Linked DNA regions of Homo sapiens: region 1 is linked to region 2. The links are contacts of gene promoters, found by promoter capture Hi-C in blood cells and fetal thymus (Javierre and others, 2016). All regions are on one chromosome and are shown on one strand. Each heading gives the region's core, a stretch centred on a gene start or on the middle of the fragment in contact. The rest is flanking DNA. Distances are from core to core; before and after follow the strand shown.

Region 1 (4,011 bases), core at 87-2,586, 460 kb after region 2:
ATCCACACGTGCCAGTGGTGAAAAGTTCATTCAGAGAACTCAGGTTACATTTTCTTCATAGTCTTTGGCATCAGAAAACGGTCTCAACCCAGGGGCAATTTGTCTTAAATGACTTCCACTGCTGACATGTCTGACCCAAAACGTCCCTCCATATGGAGCTCTGAGTAGACAAACTATTTCTTTTTTTTTTAATTTAATTTTTTAATTATACTTTAAGTTCTGGGATACATGTGCAGAACATGCAGGTTTGTTACATAGATATACACATGCTATGGTGGTTTGCTGCACCCATCAACTGGTCATCTACATTAGGTATTTCTCCTAATGCTATCCCCCTCAGCCCCCCAGCCCCCAACAGGCCCTGGTGTGTGATGTTCCCCTCTCTGTGTCCATGTGTTCTCATTTTTCAACTCCCACTTATGAGTGAGAACATGTGGTGTTTGGTTTTCTGTTCTTGTATTAGTTTGCTGAGAATGATGGTTTCCAGCTTCATCCATGTCCCTGTAAACACATGAACTCATCTTGTTTTATGGCTGCATGGTATTCCATGGTGTATACGTGCCATATTTTCCTTATCCAGTCTCTCATTGATGGATATTTGGGTTGGTTCCAAGTCTTTGCTATTGTGAACAGTGCTGCAATAAATATACATGTGCATGTGTCTTTACAGTAGAATGATTTATAATCCTTTGGGTATATACCCAGTAATGGGTCAAATGGTATTTATGGTTCTAGATCCTTGAGGAATCACCACACTGTTTTCCACAATGATGGAACTAATTTACACTCCCACCAACAGTATAAAAGTGTTCCTATTTCTCCACATCCTCTTCAGCATCTGTTGTTTCCTGACTTTTTAATGATCACATTCTAACTGGCATGAGATGGTATCTCATTGTGGTTTTGGTTTATTTCTGTAATGACCAGTGATGATAAGCTTTTTTTCATATGTTTGTTGGCCACATAAATGTGTTCTTTTGAGAAGTGGTATACAAACTATTTCTAAGCAGTCAGGTGATGAAAAGAGGATCTACCGATATGTTTTACAGTCCTAGAAGGTATCTGGAGTCAGGATAAAGCAAAGTCTAAACCATGGGTTTAAGAGGCCAGAGCTGGATAATTGTAGTTCTTTCCTTATGTGAAAATTTGAAAGCTGAGTGATCTGCAAATGATGGGAAATTAGTTTAAAAGCAGAAAAATAGAGTTCTTCTCTCATCTTTTCTCAGCAATTTCTATAAGCCAAAAAAATTGTAGGTTTTTCAAGATGTGTTTTGAAAGATATTAGGATTCATAAAAGATTATTATGTGCACATATAGTAAATGAGATGAAGTTCTATTCTGTGGTCATTCATAAATGTTTAGTGACACGCCCTGCACTGTCAGGACCTAGTTAATAGAAGCTATAAAAAGCAGCAATCCACAAAAACACTTTTGGGATATTTTGTGTGTTTTGTGAAGAATTTTTCATGTGGGTTTTGATTGCCTCATTGAGATGACCATAGTAATATGAACAAGAAACAATATTTTGTACATAACGTACACTGGGAATCTAATCAAAGCATTTGAAAAGATAGTGACAATAATAAATGTAAACTATTAATATTATTGTTTGGGACATCTGTCAAACTGTATTTGGCCTCATACTTCCCTCATTGGAACATTTGAGCCCTCATCAATCACACATCATTCCCAAAGGCAACAAATCATAATGGCTATTTCTCCTTTAGGACAAGGCTAAGCTTAAAGAATTTAAGTCCTGCCAGTGGCAGTAAGACTAAGTGCTAACAGGGGAAAGATATAAAGAGTTTTTTTTTCTTTTTGTTAGGAGCATTAAAAACAGTCACCAAACCATTGATTTTGATTTAACAGCTTACAAAGCTTCATTAAAAAGATTTTATATGTTTTCCTTTTCAATTCCCAACAATGAAAAGAACTTACTTATTATTAAATCTGTATTTTGTACAGACTTCTTCCTTATATTTCCAAGAAATAATTTTATATATGTATATGTATGTGCATGATTGTTTGTTCCTGTCTTTTTTATTCCTCATAGTATAATTGTAGAGTTTATCTTTAGTCCAAAAACTAGATAAAATCTTATCAAGGTAATTTAACTAATTCCTCGACTCCCTTTGGGACATTATCAAGACATTTGAGACTTATATGAACCTAAACCTTACAGACAAGCATTACCTCATACCTTATAGCCACACCTAGGTCTAAACATTGTAGACATACCTAGGCCTACACTTTATGGACACATATTGGCTTGCAGCTTTTAGGCCCTTAGAAGCTGATCTTTGATAGATATATATAGATCTATAACCATGTACATAGACTTCTAGGGGCCTATACCTTAGAGACATGTATAGGACTTTACCTTATATACACATATAAGCCTGTAGCTTGGAGCCACCTAGAGGCCTAGACATATAGAAAGGACCAAAATTCCTTGATGAACATTTTAAGGGCTAAGCATGCACCGTTGAGATGTTCTTATAATCACAGACTTTTCCAACTTAAAGGTTCAACATCCTAGGATCTCTCTCCCTCTGAATATTTGATGGACAAGGAAATTGAGACTCCAGGTGATTTGCATTAAGCTTGCAGATTTGATGATCAAGGACAACTCTTAAGTGTTCTGATTCTAGGCCAGTACCTATGCTCTAAGAGCATAACCACAGCTGTTCTTTGAATACAGAATGTACAGACATTCTGACCTCAGCATAATATGCTAGATTTGGAACCTGATTGGTGCAATAAATATGAGTAGATAAATTGATCTTATTCATAAGTTGAAATTCATATATTGAAATCCTAATACCCAAAGTGATGGTATTGGGAGATGGGGTCTTTGGAAGGTGTTTAGGTCATGAAGATAGAGCCCTTATTAATGGGATTAATTCTCTTATAAAGGAGACCTCCTTGCCCCTTCTGCCATGTAAAGACATAGTGAAAACGATGACTGTTTACGAAACAGTAAGTGAGAGCTCACCAGATACTGAATCTGCCTTGATTTTGGACTTCCCAGCCTCCAGAGCTATGAGAAATAAATCTACTGTTCATGAGCTACATAGTTTATGGTATTTTTTATAGCAGACAGAACAGACTAAGAACAAACCATTATTGAGCAACCTTTTTTATTTCTAAACCTCCCTCATGTTATGTTCCTTTATATGTAGATATCTAAAAACCTACCCCAGTGTCAAAATGGAGTCTCTTAAGATAGCCCAAGGCATTCTGATATTTTTGCAGTTAATACATTTCATTTAAAACATCACTGAGGCAGATTGTTGTCAGCTTGTAATTTATTTAAATTGGTGTTAGTTTCATTTCCATTTCTGTGGTCTCTGGCTTAGCATTTCAGAGGCAGAAAGCGAATCTGAGTTCAGAAAATGCCATATTTGCTTTTGGAAACATATGTTAAATCTTGCAAGGCCTATAAGTAATGACTGATTTCAAAATTAAAAATAAATAAAGAAACCCAATGGCAAGGCAGGTACCTTATTTTCAAATAAGAAGGTGAACATTTTTAGAAGGGCTGTCTTGGATATTGGAAACTGCCAAGCAGGCCAGTGCAGTCTGGGGCTAGCATGAAGTATTGATTCAGATGTCATAATTAAATGAGCCTGAGACTGAGCTCAGATAGACACTCTTTGGAAAGATGGATAAAGAGTCAGGAAGAGATATGAGTTAGAGTCTCTTTCCCTAATAGTACTTGTCAGAATTTCAAGGGTGAGAGGTTCTATCAATTGGAACAAGAACGGCGTGGGTGTGATGGGATTTGGCACCTTATCAATTCTCTCCCTTCTAAGAGAACATGTGTGACATCTGTGATTTATTTCTGATCTACCAGTCTGGTGAGCATGAGTCTTGAGTTTGCTGCCAAATTACTGCACTCGTCTACATGCTAAAAGGCTGCTGTCACATTTAAGACTGTCAGAAATTCAGATCCTTCCCATGGGTGATCCCAGAGAGCACACAGAATAGGGACTTACTTTTTGCTTGTGG
Region 2 (3,987 bases), core at 1,430-3,929:
GTTACTCAGGAGGCTGAGGCAGGAGAATTGCTTGAACCCAGGAGGCGAAGGTGGTAGTGAGCCGAGATCATGCCACTGCACTCCAGCCTGGGCGACAAAGTGAGACTCTGTTAAAAAGAAAAAAAAAAAAAAAAAAGAAAAGAAAAGAAAAGAAAAAAAGAAAGAAAGAAAGAAAGAAAAAAAGACAAAAAAACTCCTGAGCTTTAAGTTTTCCAGTCCCAAAACAAACAAACAAAAAACCCCCAAACAAACAAAAATCCTCACCCCATACAACCTGCCCATTTTTTCCCCCTACATGTTGCACAGCACAGCACAGGCTGGGGACTGTGATTCGAAGGTGAGTAGCTGGACGGCTGAAGGCTGATGTTAAATTTATCCCCCCAGAATTCGAACCCCTTGCTCCATCCGTAACAGTGAGATCGTTGGCAAATTAGTTTTGATGTCTCAATCTCTTCTTCTGTAAGATATGGGATAATATTACTATTTACCATATGTGTACAGATCTGTGAATAGATGCCTGGCATACAGTAATTTCCCAATAAATATTTGCTGATAATTTCTGTTTCTTAGCAGCATCATTCAAACTGCTGAAATATTTTCTTTAAAAAAAAATCAAAGGTCCTTCTGAGATAGTATTGGGATATAAAGATAAACGTGACAAAAACATTTGTGCTTCAAAGGGGAACCAGTATAAAGCCATAAAGCCCACTTTCTTCTGCTGAATAGAATGAGTTTGGGGACAGGGACAACGCCTTAAAATGGGTCAACGCGCGGACGCGAGGGGGCACTGTGAGTCCGCTTTGGCGAGGGAGAGGCGGCGGCCCGCGCGGGGCGGGGAGGGCTGCGCCCTTCCAGCATCCCAGCGCCCAGGAGCTTCGCCACCTACCAGGGTCCGAGACCTTAACTCGGTTCCGGAAAGGGCGTCCCGGGTGACCCAAGTTTGGGGCCACAAGCAGCTCCACCGGCTCTCCGCGTTGGTCTCTCCCCTCCCCCTAAGCAGACAGTCCTTTCTGCCAGCTGTCCTTAATTTGAGATTCGTGAGTCCCGGGGTTTGGGAAACCAGAACCCCCCTGCGACTGTAGGGAACGTTTTGGGTGCGCCTATGTCGGGTATTTTCCTGGGCAAAAGGACAGAAGCTGTCATCTGATTCTTTAAGGGGTTCGTGTCCCAAGAGGGGGTTAAGCTCTCTTGGTTTAGGATAAGAGGGCCCACCTAACCACCCACCCAAATGCCAAACACACAGCAGGTCGAGAAACGACTCTGAAATCACTCCTTGTCCACTTCCCAAGGTCGGGCGAGAGACTGGCACGCCCCACGGGCAATCTTCAGAAAAAAAGGTCAGATCTGGTCCTTAAACAGCTCAGGTGCGAAGCTGAATCGCCCTTCTGCGGAAAGAGAGGAGACAGTACCTGCCCCCGCCGTCCCTCACTTCCCTTAGTCCCAAGAAGAGGTCAGACACCGGGAAATGGGGCCCAGGCGCTTGGTCTGTTCCACCTGCCACTCGAGTCCCCAGTCCCAAGAGGCTGCTCAGACATTGGCATGATGGGGAAACTCGATTGATTTTGTTACCTCCTAGAGGGAAAATGCCGTGGGCGGAGATGTCTGAGCGTCCCTTCCAACACGAGCTGGGTGGTGCTCTATTGATTTTCACGCGATCCCCGGGCGGGAGCGAGAGGATAGGCTCGGATTCCCGGGCTCCAGGACCGAACGCCTGGCAGTGTCCCCGGGGGCAAAGCCACCCCGGGAGCCCGTGCAGTATACTAGGTGGGGGGCCCGGAGAGAAAGCATAGCGCCGACGAGGGGGAGGGGCCGGGCAGAAAGGAGGGTGGGGTACCGGGTGGGACACACTGACCTAGGAGAAAGTACAACCCACCCCAAACTTTCGCAGACCCGGGAGCTTAGGAAGGGAGAGCCAGGAAGACAGCAGCCTCTCCTGCCGCCCAACGTGCCCAGCTGCAGCGAGGAGGGGCGGCGCGCAAGCCGGCTGGACCCGGGCGGTCCCCACGTTGCGCCCACCCTCCGGGCCAAAACGCCGCCGCTCGGGTCACTGAGTGGCCGCCCACGGAAGAAGTCAGATCGCCGGGCTCTGGGCTGCGTACGGGATCCGAGGAAGGGGGATTCAAACGCGGATCCGGAAGGAAGGGACACTGAACCCCGCAGCGTCCCCAGCGCCGTGGGGCGGCGGGACGTGTCCTTGGGCTGCCAGCGGGCGCGGAAGCTGGAGTCCGGCAGGGTCGGGAAGAAGTGAGCACAGACTTCCACGGGTAGAAGAGTCAGATTAAACAGAAATGTGAAAAGCAACCCAGGGCAGCCAACGGAGCCCAGCAGCGTAGAAGCCACCGGCTTCCCGCCGGGAGGACTACAGTGACTGACACTCGCGAAGACTAGGCGCTCCCAGCGGCCGCGGGTCTGCGTGGAGAAGTCGCCTCGCGGCGCGGAGCGCGCCAGCGGCGGCGGCGGCTGCCAGAGCGCGAGATGCGGCGCGCAGCCGCCGGACCGTCCCGGCTGGGAAAACTCGCGGGCGGCACTGCGCAGCGCTGACCCGGCGCAGGTCCGAGGGGTGTGCCCCGGCCCCTCCCGTCTCCGCCCCCTCCCGCGCCAGTCGCGCGCCCCTCCCCGCGGCGGCAGCGTCGGCGGCGCATCCAGGGGCGGCGCGGAGCCTTGCTCAGCCCAGCAGCCAGTGCCTGCGAGCTCCGCTGCTGCTTGGGGAATTCACTTTGCTGCTTGTTCGCTTCTCCCTTCCTCAGGCTTCTTCTGATGGTTTTCCGTCTCCTGCCCGAGCCTTTCCTTTAAAAGGAAAACTTTACTGCGATACCCTTTTCCCCTTGGAGGAGAGGATTAAAAGTTCCAAGAACTGGTGCCGCCCGTGCCATTTGGGCGCTGGGAAGGTGCTCGGCGGCGGGGTTCCCGGTCCCACCATGTGCACCAACATAGTTTACGAGTGGCTCAAAGCGCTGCAGCTTCCGCAGTACGCGGAGTCCTTCGTGGATAACGGCTACGATGACCTGGAGGTGTGCAAGCAGATCGGGGACCCGGACCTGGATGCCATCGGGGTGCTGGCGCCCGCGCACCGCCGCCGTATCCTGGAGGCCGTGCGCCGGCTGCGGGAGCAGGACGCCAACGCCGCCGGCCTCTACTTCACGCTTGAGCCGCAGCCGGCGCCCCCCGGGCCGCCCGCCGACGCCGTCCCCACCGGCCGCCGGGGGGAGCCGTGCGGCGGCCCGGCCCAGGGCACCCGCGGGGACTCTCGCGGCCACACGACCGCCCCCCGCAGCAGGGAGCTGGTGAGCTACCCCAAACTGAAGCTGAAGATCATGATCAGGGATAAGCTCGTCCGTGACGGCATCCACCTGAGCAAGCCCCCGTACTCCCGCAAGGTAAGGAGGTGCCGTCCGGGCGGCCCGGGGCGCGCGGCGGGAGGGGACACAGCCCAGCTGCCTGTGCCAAGGCTTTGCAACCCATTCCAGGTGACGACGGAGAGGCCAGGAGGCTTTGGGTATCTGGGACCCTTTTCTATGTTCTTTCTGTATTAGCCCATTATTTCGTCCTTCCTGGTGTCTCCAGTGGTTGGTAAGACAAGCCCCCGCATCCAGATGTTATCTCTAAACTAACGACCAAAACTCCGCATCCTCTCTGGTGCTCGCCTGTCAGGAATCGGACTCGCGCTGCTTCACCTGGTAGCCAGGGGGAATTCCTAACGCCCTCTATAGTAGTTTTGGGTTTGAAGAGTACCAGAAAAAATGGTTAATACCTACATTGCTTTCTACCTTCCTTTTTCTCTTTCTTTTCCTTTTTTGAGTCTTGAGAAACTCCTAAGGGAAATCGGTGAACTCTTTAAAGAGTGGAAAGTCAGGCCCTGCCTTTCTCAATTCCATAAAAAATCCCAGCGCTGCTGCAAATTTGAGAAGCTTACCATTCACATGAGCATTTTAAGAGGAAAAGTGAAGGAAGCACGTGTCAGTCCACTTGAGATGATTTCCTAAACTT

Evidence for each region. The method cuts DNA at HindIII sites, captures the fragments that hold promoters and counts their contacts. A CHiCAGO score of 5 or more calls a contact.
Region 1: a fragment that was not itself captured here is called in contact with the fragment with the promoter of SAMD5 in region 2 in 3 of 17 cell types (megakaryocytes, erythroblasts and endothelial precursors); the score reaches 8.7 in megakaryocytes.

Annotation. Positions count from the first base shown.
Region 1 is chr6:147,968,762-147,972,772 of GRCh38, forward strand. No RefSeq gene overlaps it. Among named protein-coding and RNA genes, the nearest start is that of SASH1, 370 kb to the right of the region's middle. The HindIII fragment of the contact is 802 bases long and covers 936-1,737 here.
Region 2 is chr6:147,506,011-147,509,997 of GRCh38, forward strand. SAMD5 (sterile alpha motif domain containing 5) reads left to right here and starts at 2,680. Exons shown (of 2, transcript NM_001030060.3): 1 at 2,680-3,377. The coding sequence starts at 2,919. RefSeq lists a silencer at 832-881. The HindIII fragment of the contact is 12,433 bases long and covers 1-3,906 here.